3 separate regions of the Homo sapiens genome follow, and regions 1 and 3 are each linked to region 2. The links are contacts of gene promoters, found by promoter capture Hi-C in human tissues and cell types (Jung and others, 2019). All regions are on one chromosome and are shown on one strand. The core of a region is centred on a gene start or on the middle of the fragment in contact, and the rest is flanking DNA. Distances in the headings are between cores, read along the strand shown.

What was found. The method cuts DNA at HindIII sites, captures the fragments that hold promoters and counts their contacts. A contact is called where the count stands out against the background at its distance.
Region 1: a fragment that was not itself captured here is called in contact with the fragment with the promoter of C5orf63 in region 2 in 1 of the 25 tissues and cell types used here (H1 embryonic stem cells).
Region 3: a contact is called between a fragment that was not itself captured here and the fragment with the promoter of C5orf63 in region 2, in 1 of the 25 tissues and cell types used here (mesenchymal stem cells).

Annotation. Positions count from the first base shown.
Region 1 is chr5:127,490,850-127,494,452 of GRCh38, reverse strand. No RefSeq gene overlaps it. Among named protein-coding and RNA genes, the nearest start is that of PRRC1, 25 kb to the left of the region's middle. The HindIII fragment of the contact is 4,370 bases long and covers 1-3,603 here.
Region 2 is chr5:127,071,833-127,075,563 of GRCh38, reverse strand. It overlaps C5orf63 (chromosome 5 open reading frame 63), which reads left to right and starts at 2,062. Exons shown (of 5, transcript NM_001164478.2): 1 at 2,062-2,113. RefSeq lists a silencer at 1,986-2,205. The HindIII fragment of the contact is 2,852 bases long and covers 703-3,554 here.
Region 3 is chr5:127,508,107-127,511,993 of GRCh38, reverse strand. It overlaps the pseudogene HNRNPKP1. Among named protein-coding and RNA genes, the nearest start is that of PRRC1, 7.6 kb to the left of the region's middle. The HindIII fragment of the contact is 6,089 bases long and covers 1-3,887 here.

The DNA.
Region 1 (3,603 bases), core at 449-2,948, 420 kb before region 2:
TTAAATGTGATTTGCCTATGTATAGATTTTGGGGGGATATTTATCCTGCTTTGTGTTCTCTGAGCTTCCTGAATCTGTGATCTGGTGTCTCATTAATTTGGAGAAAATTCTCTGTCATTATTGCTTCAAATGTTGCTTCTGTTTCTTTCTCTTTCTTCTCCTTCTGGTATTCCCATTATATGTATTTATACCTTTGGCAATTGTCCCACAATTTTGGGGTATACTATTCTGTTTTTATTCATTCTTTTTTCTCTTTGCTTTTCAGTTTGAGATGTTTTTACTGATATATTTTTATTTTTTATTTTTTTATTTTATTATTATTATACTTTAAGTTTTAAGGTACATGTGCACAATGTGCAGGTTAGTGCTGATATATTTTTAATTTCACTGATTCTTTTCTCAGCCATGTCCAGTCTACTGATAAGTAATCGAAGGCATTCCTCCCTTCTATTGCAGGATTTTTAATTTGTATAATAGCATTTACTTTTGAGTCTTTCGTAGAGTTTTCATATTTGTATTTACACTACCCATCAGTAGTTGCATGTTGTCCACTTTTTCCATTAGAACCCTTAGCATATCACTCAGAATTCTTTCAGATTCCAAGTCTGATAATTCTAAAATTTCTGCCATATATGAGTCTAGTTGTGAGGCCTGCTCTGTCTCTTCACACTGTGGTTTTCACCTTTTTTCATGCCTTGTAATTTTTTGATGAAAGCTAAATATGAAGTACTGGGTAAAAAAAACAGATAAACATGTCCTTAGTGTGAGGTTTTATGGTTTATATATTTTATGTCTTTAGTGTGAGGTTTTATGTCTTTAGTTTTATGTCTTTAGTGTGAGGTTTTATGTCTTTAGTGTGAGGTTTTATATGACTGGGAGTTCGACTGTGTTTCCTCTTTGCAGTAGCTCTGTCAGAGGCTAAAGTTTCCTCTGGTGTCCCTGTTTTCGTCTCCTCTGTTGTCTTTGGATTTCCCTGGACACTTCTTAAATCATTCCTGAGGTTTGCAGTTCTTTCCACTGTAATTCCTGTTGTTGTACAGGAACCCTATTAAGGAGAAGTAAGGCGTAGAGTGAAGGAAATTGTTCATAGTCCTAAAATTTGCTTCAGTATTTTAGTGAGCCTGTGCCCCTGGACCATGACACAGTCATAAATTTGTTGTATTTCCTCTAGCACAAAATGACAGGTTAGGCTGAATCATGTCAAGAGCCTCAGCTAGTGCTATCTAAATTCTCTGATTGCAATAATTTAATCTCTTAGTTTGGTAATATCTTTGTGTCATTTTTGTAAACATCCACTAGGGGGAGAGAAAATGTGTCTCTCATCAGTAACAGGATAACAGGTAGACAGGAAAGGACATTCCCACAGCAACATTTGGATATGCTCAGTTTTTCCCCACAATGAATGCTCTACTTAAAGTAAAACAGCAATCTGAACATTTTGAAGATGTTCTTAAAACATCTTTATTGGAGATTTATTACTTAAGTAAAGTTGTCTTATTGCTTCTGGGAATTTTACCAAAGGCCATTAGAGGGAGCTCAAAGCTTTTAAAATAATATATATATACATATATTTTTCTTTCTCTGCTTTCAGCACTTGATTGTCATTGCTAGCACTTTATTCTTAAGGCCCTGAATTTTCCTCATTTTTTTTAAAGATCAATTGAAATGCAGGAGATTTACCCTAATGTGTCTACCTGAGAATAAAAAGAGAATAAATTGCTTTTAACGAATTACTTAAATAATATAAACATGTCATTGAAGTATCGCAGTATTTAGAGAACAGTCCGTTTTCATTATAACCATGTGAAGAATAAGAAATTACTTTAGAGATTCTCATAAATTAAAATTTTTTAAAAGGAATGAATTGCTTTCTAAAAAGACACAAAGAATATACATGATCTAATACAACAAAATCTATAAGCAACATCTTACTGGCATTTAGTAAAGGTTAAATCCTTACTCTATATAGGCAATTTTCCCCATGTAATTATATTTTAGTTTAAATTAAATTTTAGGTATACAAATTTTGATCCACAGGGATTTTTTGGTAATTCTGTTCTAATTATTTTTTAATTTCCATTATCTTCTTTGATTTATGACTTATTTAAAACTGTGTTTTAAACTTTCCAATTGTATGAGGATTTTATCTTTATTTTTTGATTTCTAATTTTGTTACATTGAGATACAAGAATGGGTCTACATTATGTTTGGTTTTTTTTTAAGGCTCAAATTTTGGGTGCAGGTAGGTGTGTGTGTGTGTGTGTGTGCGCATGTGTAAGAGAAAGAGAAGATTTTAGCTGTGACTTTTTTGTTATCTTGATGTTTCAGCTAAAGTCTCAGCTTCTCAATGTGCATGTTTGCTGGGCATTCTAAGATAATGTGAGACTGGGTTTACAAAACTTAAATCATCCTTCGCTTCAAATGCTGTATGAAACCAGGCTAGAGAATTGGTTATGGGATGATAAAGATGAAGAAAAGAAGTACAGTATTTCTTTAAAGAGAAAATTGGAGAATCATGATGTTTCTCGTCTCCATCTAGATGTGGCGCTAATGCTACTCTCATTTTAATCCCAGCCAGGGACATATATTGACAGAAACAATCAAAGAGCAAGACAGATGCTCCCTAGAATTTGAGGACACAGTAATTGGTATGGGGTTCATGAGTAAATATATTCTAAAAGTTAGAGCCAAAGTGATCTGCTTAGAAATGGACTGCACTTTCATAGTCTGTTAGGGCAAAAGTGAATGTACATTTCTCTCAAGATTTTATGGCTACTTGGGAGGGACATACTACCTAAAAGTATTACTTAGAAGAATAGGTAGCCACAACAGTAGGGTGAGCTGCTAGAATCTAGTAGCTAAGCTTAGGGTTTGTAAGCTGTATGCATGAGCAATACTGCGGGATCTTTCACAGTTTTTTACAAAACTGCCTTTAAAAGAAAGAGCACTGCGTGTGGAATACAAAGCAAAGCTTCATACCAGATTGTGACCCTGTGAGCCTTGAAAAATTGTTTTCTCCTTAATGCCCCTTTTATATCCTTCCTTCTCTTCCCATTGACCAAAAGCACATCCAGCAAGTGAGAAGGGGGTGTACGAAGAAAGAGGAAAGAAGCCAACCACGTCCTGCTTTCTCGTTGTAAGTTTTTGAACCCATGTGAGCTGAGCTGGGGAAGGAGAATCATCTAAAATTGGATGAGAATGTAGGGTTTATATTTGACTATGCTGTATTTTATCACATGAAAATGATTAGAAGAGCTATAAAACTTGTCAATATTTCATTCAGGAGCAAAGTCTTTAGAAGTTGAAAGATTAGTTAGTTTCTCCTTGCACTTTGCAACAAGCTTGATAGTTCAATATACCATGTATAAGGATACAAACAAATATAGCCACATTCTTATCCATATCTATTCCTATATCTATGCTATGTACACACACACACACACACACACACACACACACACATTAGCCCAAGATGGTTAATTCGATTTTTTAAATGTGTATACTTTTCCCAATGTTTGACATTTTCTACTTTTTCTCGAAATTCTTCAAATTTTCTTTACATAGTTTGAAGCTATCTTGTTCACATGGGTTCAGAATTATGGC
Region 2 (3,731 bases), core at 813-3,312:
TGAGTGTCCTTTTTTTTCTTTTTTGGTTTTGTAGACATTTTTCCTGGCCAGACTCCAGATATTTTCCCAAGCAGAGCTCCCTTCCCCAGCACTGTAGGCCCTGGACCTAGAGGCTAAACTGGTCCTCTGAGCTCATGGCAGTCAGCCAGGCACTCCCAAAGAGGGTATCAACCATAGTGAGTTCTCAGGGATTCCTAGACATTCGACAGGACTCCCTCTAACCAAAACAATAATGTGGAGGCTCCAGGTCTTCCGCTATCACTTACAAACCCAAGAAATTCTTACTGATTAAACTCAAATTCTGAAAATTTATGAACTTTTGGCTCCTTAGAGAAATTTACTCATAACCAGTGCTAAAAGCCTTCATTGTTGGCCTTGGTTGAATCCATTCTTTTCCTTCAGTGGGTGAAATCAGGTTTCATAAGTCCAAGTGATTTTATAAACCTTTGTTTTCCAACAATAAATAAGATTTGGAAGCTGATCTGGAGTTACATTTCTAGTAAGCTTTTCTGTCACTCCACAATATCTAAGATACTCATGCCCCACCAAGGTGTTTATAACTAGATCCCAGATTCCTTCTTTAAAGGTATCCTATCAGCAACTGTTAGGTGGACTGTGCTTTATCAATTGACTTTTTTTTTTCCAGAAAAACTAAGTCTTATCAGAGTGCATCAACTCAAAAATAACTATAGGTAGTCTGTTGACAGTCACAAAATTCCCTCTTTAGCCTATCAGAAAATGCTGAAGTGACAAAGAACTTGTAAATTCTACTATCTTAATGTGGCCTCTAGCGACATCACATAATCAGTGTGGTTTGTTTAAAGAATTCATTCCTGACCTTGGTTTGCTTTGTATCTTTTTTAAAACCACTGAGTACACATTGAATTTATAGTGGTAAGCTTAAGGCGTCAGACAGCATGAGATGGAATTCCAAATCTACCGTTTTGTAACTGTGAGAACTTGAGCAAGTTATTAAACCTCCATTACTTCATCTGTAAAATGGTACTAGTAATACTTAATTGCATTGTTCTCAGGATTAAACAGACTAATGAGTATAAAGCTTTTGGTGAGCAATCAATAAATGTTAGCTTTGAGTATTACTATAATTATTATCCATCATTTTCTCATTATTTACTGTACCACCATTCAAGCCACCACACCTAGAACCTGGAATGCTCAGTAGCTTCCTCACCTCCCTGCTTGTTCTACTCTTGCCTATCCTAAACCCTTCCCATCTACTTCCCAAAGCTAAGGGGTCCTTTCAGAAGGGAAAAGCAATCAGTTCAATCCCCTTCCCACATAAAACAGAAATGCCCCCCGGCTACCCTTAGCACAAACCTGAAAGGCCCTGCATGGCCAGACTCTCGCTTACCCTCTCTAGCCTGTTTCCACCTCTCTTCCCCATTCCCTCTAAGTCTCAGCCATACTCGTCAGTCTTCCGCATACAACCCATACTGCACATCCTCCACCAGACCCTTCCCCCAGCCTGCAGAGCTCTGTCCCCAACCCACGCCCTTCAGATCCCAGCCCCAAAGCTACCTCTTCAACGAGATCCCACTCAGGTCTTTTCTCATATTCCTTCCCTGCAAAGCACTTAGCTGAATAAACCCATGGCCTATTTAATAAGGGATAATTTCCTAATATCTGCTTTCTCACACGATTTTCAGTTTGCGGGAGGGTACGGCTGCCAGTTTTGCTCATCGCATTCCCCATAACCTAGTTCAGCCAAGACCTAGTGGAGGAGGCAGTAAATATTAAATTAACGAAAGAATGGATGCATGCAGAGCGGTTAAAATGGCTCGGACTCCGCAGCCTCAAAAAGTTGGCTCCCGCACCTGAGGCCTCTTATTAAATGGTTCCCAAACATGCGGGGTCACTTTTCCGTATTTTGTTTTTTAGTTTGGCCTTGGTTTGTGTGTCACTCTTCACGAGTAAAGGTTCAGGCGCGGCCACCCTTGAGAGCGTAGACGGGACACCACCTGAGATAGAACGCCCAGCGGCAGTGCTGCCGGCGTGGGGCGGAAGTGCGGGGCCTGGGGCCGGCGCCTGGTGGGTGCGGGCGGAAGTGCCCGGCGCAGGGCGGAAGCAGAGGCGTTGGCGGCGTGAGGCTCAGGTGGGTTCCCTTAGTCCCGCGCCGAGGGTGAGCGCTCGCGGGTCTCCGCCTCTGAGCTGACGCGCAGGCTGGCGGGGGTTCGCTGTGCCGCGTGCTGCCCATTTGGATAGTCGTTATACGGAATTTAATTAAACCGGGAGCCATAAATCCATGAACTACTTGGGGGAGATTATAAACGCGTGTGTGTGTGTCTGTGATAGCGCTCTGGGAAGTAAATAAATGACGGGCGGGAAAAGGAAGCTTTTTTTTTTTTTAAGAGAAAGCAGAAAACATCTCGAGAAAGCAGAAAACATCTCAACTTCATACTCCTCCAGTGATTCGCCGATGCCCCGTCCCGGGTTTAATTGAATTCTATGAAGTGGTAGTGTAATCACACTTGGGAGCCCGCTGAGCTGACTGCCTTTTTAAATAAATATTTTTGAGCAGCCATGTTGACCTTTAATTGGGGTGAAAAGGTTGAAAGGTGCAGCAGGGAACATTGTGAGTGCCGGGGCTCTCTGGATGAGCTGTCTGGATCTCCTCTCAGCCTTATTGGGCAAAAGCAGCCCTCTGGGTACTGAACAATGAGAGAATAAATCAGAAACTGTACATTCTCAACAGATATTCACTTCTGACAAATAGCAGCTCATACAGTTTTTTAATAAGTCCAAGGGTAGAAAAGTCCCCACTAAAATGTCATTGTGAGTTAGGCTTGTGACTGTTTCTAAGGCTGTCTTTCACAGGGAATGTTTTGCTTGGGTGATCTTTATTCTTGTTTATTAATAAATAGTGTATATGTGGTACTTTATATTTTAGTGCCCTTAAAAAAAAAATCCATAGTATGGCCTTAGCTTGACCCCAAGATTCTCAATTCCTCAAGGACAGAGATGGTGTCTAAGATCTGTTATATCCCAATACTTTCTAGCGCATTTCCCAGAATTAGTATACATTGTCTTGTTTAAGCAGCCACTAGAGCTATGCCTTGGTGCACAATGCTGAACAAGTTGAGGTGTCTATTAGAGGTCGCAGTCTTCTCATTTGGTCATATTCTGAGGACTAGCTTATAAAAATGCATGTGAAGCTCTCTACCAATATTTGGAGCTGTATACATTGGGGTGCATTATAGGTAATTAGAAAGATTTAAAACACGGGGAAAAAAGATACACCCTGGAAATATTGGATAATTATGATAATACTGGGGCAAAGCAGAACTAATCATGGTTCTGTGTGAAATATCGTAGCCCAATAACCTGCGTCCTGCTCTGCTGAGGAATTGCCTGGAACCAGAAAGACCCTGTTGTGAAAATTAAGATTGGTGGGGCTGGTGCTTTAAACAGGCAGGATCCTCAGATTGTCTTTCTTCCCTCCTGCTCTGGCAGCAGTAGCCACATGCCAAGGAAGGATCAATATTTTTTTGTCTCCTTCATCAGAGGAATATGTGGCTGTGTGGTTTTATTTAGATGGACTGTTGGCAGGTAAGTAATAGAAATGAGGATTTTTCCAACTTGGGAGTTGATTGGACTGTGTTTCTATTTTGTTCCAGATGCCTGGCTCTAAAGTACTCAGAGGCACTATGAGAAATCCCTTTAAAATAGGTTATTTTTTATTATTAAAGTTTTTTTATTTCATAACTTGTATA
Region 3 (3,887 bases), core at 601-3,100, 440 kb before region 2:
TCGAGGACCACCTCCTCCTCTTACTGGACGAGGTGGCCGGGGTGGTAGCAGAGCTCGGAATCTTCCTCTTCCTCCACCACCACCACCTAGAGGGGAAGACCTAATGGCCTATGACAGAAGAGGGAGACCTGGAGACTGTTACGATGGCATGGTTGGTTTCAGTCCTGATGAAACTTGGAACTCTGCAATAGATACATGGAGCCCATCGGAATGGCAGATGGCTTATGAACCACAGGGTGGCTCCGGATATGATTATTCCTATGCAGGGATTGGTGGCTCATATGGTGATCTTGGTGGACCTATTACTACTGCACAAGTAACTATTCCCAAAGATTTGACTGGATCTATTATTGGCAAAGGTGGTCAGCGGATTAAACAAATCGGTCATGAGTTGGGAGCTTCAATCAAAATTGATGAGCCTTTAGAAGGATCCGAAGATCAGATCACTATCATTACAGGAACACAGGACCAGATACAGAATGCACAATATTTGCTGCAGAACAATGTGTAGCAGTATTCTGGAAAGTTTTTCTAAGACTAGTGAAGAACTGGAGGAGTCCTGCATCTTTTTTTTTTATTTGCTTCTGTTTAAAAAGCCAACATTCCTCTGCTTTGTAGGTGTTCTGCATTTGAAGTGTAGTGAAATCTTTGCTGTTCACCAGATGTAATGTTTTAGTTCCTTACAAATAGGGTTGTGGGGGAAGGGCGTGCAAAAACTAACATTGAAATTTTGAAACAGCAGCAGAGTGAGTGGATTTTATTTTTTGTTATTGTTGATGGTTTAAAAAAAATTCCCCCCATGTAATTATTGCGAACACCTTGCTTTGTGGTCACTGTAACATTTGGGGGGTGGGACAGGGAGGAAAAGTAACAATAGTCCATATGTCCCTGGCATCTGTTCAGAGCAGTGTGCAGAATATAATGCTCTTTTTAAAGAAACATTTTATGATTTTTAAAATAAATTTAGTGAACCTATTTTTTGTGGTCATTTTTTTTAAGACAGTCATTTTAAAATGGTGGCTGAATTTCTCCACCCCCAAACTAAACACTAAGTTTGATTTTCAGCTCCTCTGTTGGATATGTAAGTGCATCTCTTCTTGGACATAGGCAAAATAACTCGGCAAACTTAGTTCTGGTGATTTCTTGATGGTTTGAAAGCCTATTTCTGGGAAGAAATTCCAACATACATATTCATGCTTATAAAAAGCTGGGCATTTTTTGTTTGTTTTTGCAAATGCTTGCCCCTGCTTTTCAACAATTTTATATGTTAGTGGTTGTGAAGAACTAAAGTGGGGAGCAGTACTACAAATTGAGTAATGGTATGAGTATATACCAGAATTCTGATTGGCAGCAAGTTTTATTAATCAGAATAACACTTGGTTATGGAAGTGACTGATGCTGAAAAAAACTGATTATTTTTATTAGATAATTTCTCACCTATAAACTGTCAACTTGCTCTAATGTCTTATTAAACTTTATAAAATACATATATACTTGTTTTTCCATTGTATGCAAATTGAAAGAAAAAGATGTACCATTTCTCTGTTGTATGTTGGATTATGTAGGAAATGTTTGTGTACAATTCAAAAAAAGATGAAAAAAGTTCCTGTGGATGTTTTGCGTAGTATATTGGCATTTGTTATGATAGTTAAAATTCACTTGCAAATAAATAAAACACCCATGATGCTAGATTTGATATGTGACCAATTTGAACAAGGGTTGATTGACACCTGTAAAATTTATTGAAACATTCCTCTTACAAGGAAATACAGTAATCTTAAATTGTAAAAAAAGAAAGAAAAAGAAAAAAGAAGAGCAAACTCAATTATTTTTCTCAAATACATATTTATGAAAACGTCTATCACTCCTTCTTTCTCATATGGTAAAATCTTAAAAACTCAATTTACTCTTGCTTTCTAGACTCTTCTCCTTTTCCTACATCCTGCTCCATATTTCCCAGGCACCCACTGCAAGAATCTGCCCTACCGAAGCCTGAAGCCATGCACCTTTGCCCCTATCAATCCCTTTACCTGAGCATGTTTTTCCCTTTCCACCTTCTACTAATAGGTATTCTTCACTTTTCAAGGACTTGCTCAAAGTTTTCTTCTACCATAAAATCTTTTTACATTGTAGTATTGTTGGCTGTACATGCTTATATTCTCTATTCATTTATGAGCTCCTTGATGGTAGTAACTTTGGGTTTAGAATACCACTACATTCAAATTTTTACGTGAGTGAGTACTACGAACATGTTTTGAATTTAGTTGAATTTTCTATTAAGATTCATGTGCAGCACACACATAGCAAAACGTCCTCATAATCATCTTTTTTCTCCTCCAAATATGAGTTCACTAAAAATATTCTTGTAGGAGACAGAACAAATGTTTCTTTTGAAAAATTTGAAATTTTCCTTTGAATAAGAAACCATGCCACTAAAATTAGTTCTCTGGCCAAGGAATCCCTGTTAATATGCAATAACATATTGCAGAGTATTCTAATTGTTTTCTAGAATTTTGTGTTTTTACAAAGTTAAAAGTTTGCATAACTTCAAGCAATAGCTCTCAGTGCATGATACCTCCTAAATATTTATATCTGTAGTAGTGTTTCTCAAGACTTTTAATTCACAGAACATTCCACTTTTCCCTTTTAATTTTTATGATAGTTTAGAAAAGGAAACATAACACAATTGTTCCTACAAGCACCTTCATTTTCAAGCAATATTTAAAGCTCAGGGCCATGTGCTTTTTCTTTTGTCAATTCAGCATTTCTTTAATGCTTAGAAGTGAAATTTTGACAAGAGAGCCTGTGAGGTGAATGAGTCCAATTTATGTAACTCCCCAATCAAACCAGCTGCATGGGAACAGCCATTTGGTGTCCTTCTGCTTCCTATCTCATAGAACTAACTGCTTCTAAGCAGGTCAGCAGGGTTAGGTGGAAAATACACTAGATTAGGAATCTAGCACAGCTTCTGCCACTAATTAAGAAAGCAACTCTTGTCTGAGGGTTACCTTCTCTGAGCTTTAATTTCCTCCCCTGATGAGTGAGGGATAGTTAAATGATTTCTGTAGTGAGCATTCATTATGGTTAGCTTCCTAACTAGACAAAAGAAAATAAGACATTCTCCCTTATCAACATAGATGAAAAGGCTAACTCTGGGCACACTGCCTCGGAGTTAGCCCTGCAAACAAAAAAAAAAAAAAAAAAAAAAAAAGAAAAAAGAAAAAAAATTCTAGGTGAAATGTTAGAAAATTGAATTGGGTGATAGTGATGATGATGATTGATGATATACATTGTGACTAAGTAATGTTGTTTTCCTCCCAGGAATAGAAGAGTGGTCCTACGTCAGAAAAATTTATTGATGATTTACCAAATTTAAAAAGAAAAGGAATCTGATAATACCAGTAGATACAGTTAAAAACATTTGATAAAATTGAACTCTTACTCATAACTCTTGTTAAACTAGGAATAGAAGCAATCATTAACCTGATAAAGGACATGTACAAAATAACATAGCCAACACACTTAAGTAGTGAGATAGAAGCCTTTCATTTAAAGTAACAATGTAAAAAGAGATAAAAAAAATTTTAACATGGAAAAAACACAGCTATCCTTATTTGTAGTAAAAATTCCTGTTGAAATGATCCAGTAGGTAGTACTTGTATTTCTTTTCAAGCTCCCAGTGATCTTCACCAGTCCACAGCCTTAAACAACATCTGTATGCTAATGACTTCCATCTCTATATGTCCAACCATAACTTCTCTCCTAAACTCTACAACTGTTTAATAGCTTCACTTTGGTGTCTAGGCAGGAGACTAATTAAAACTCTCAGTGTTTCCCCAAAATATCCTGCCCCTCTTGTACTCTTCCTACTCGGTAAATGGCAACTA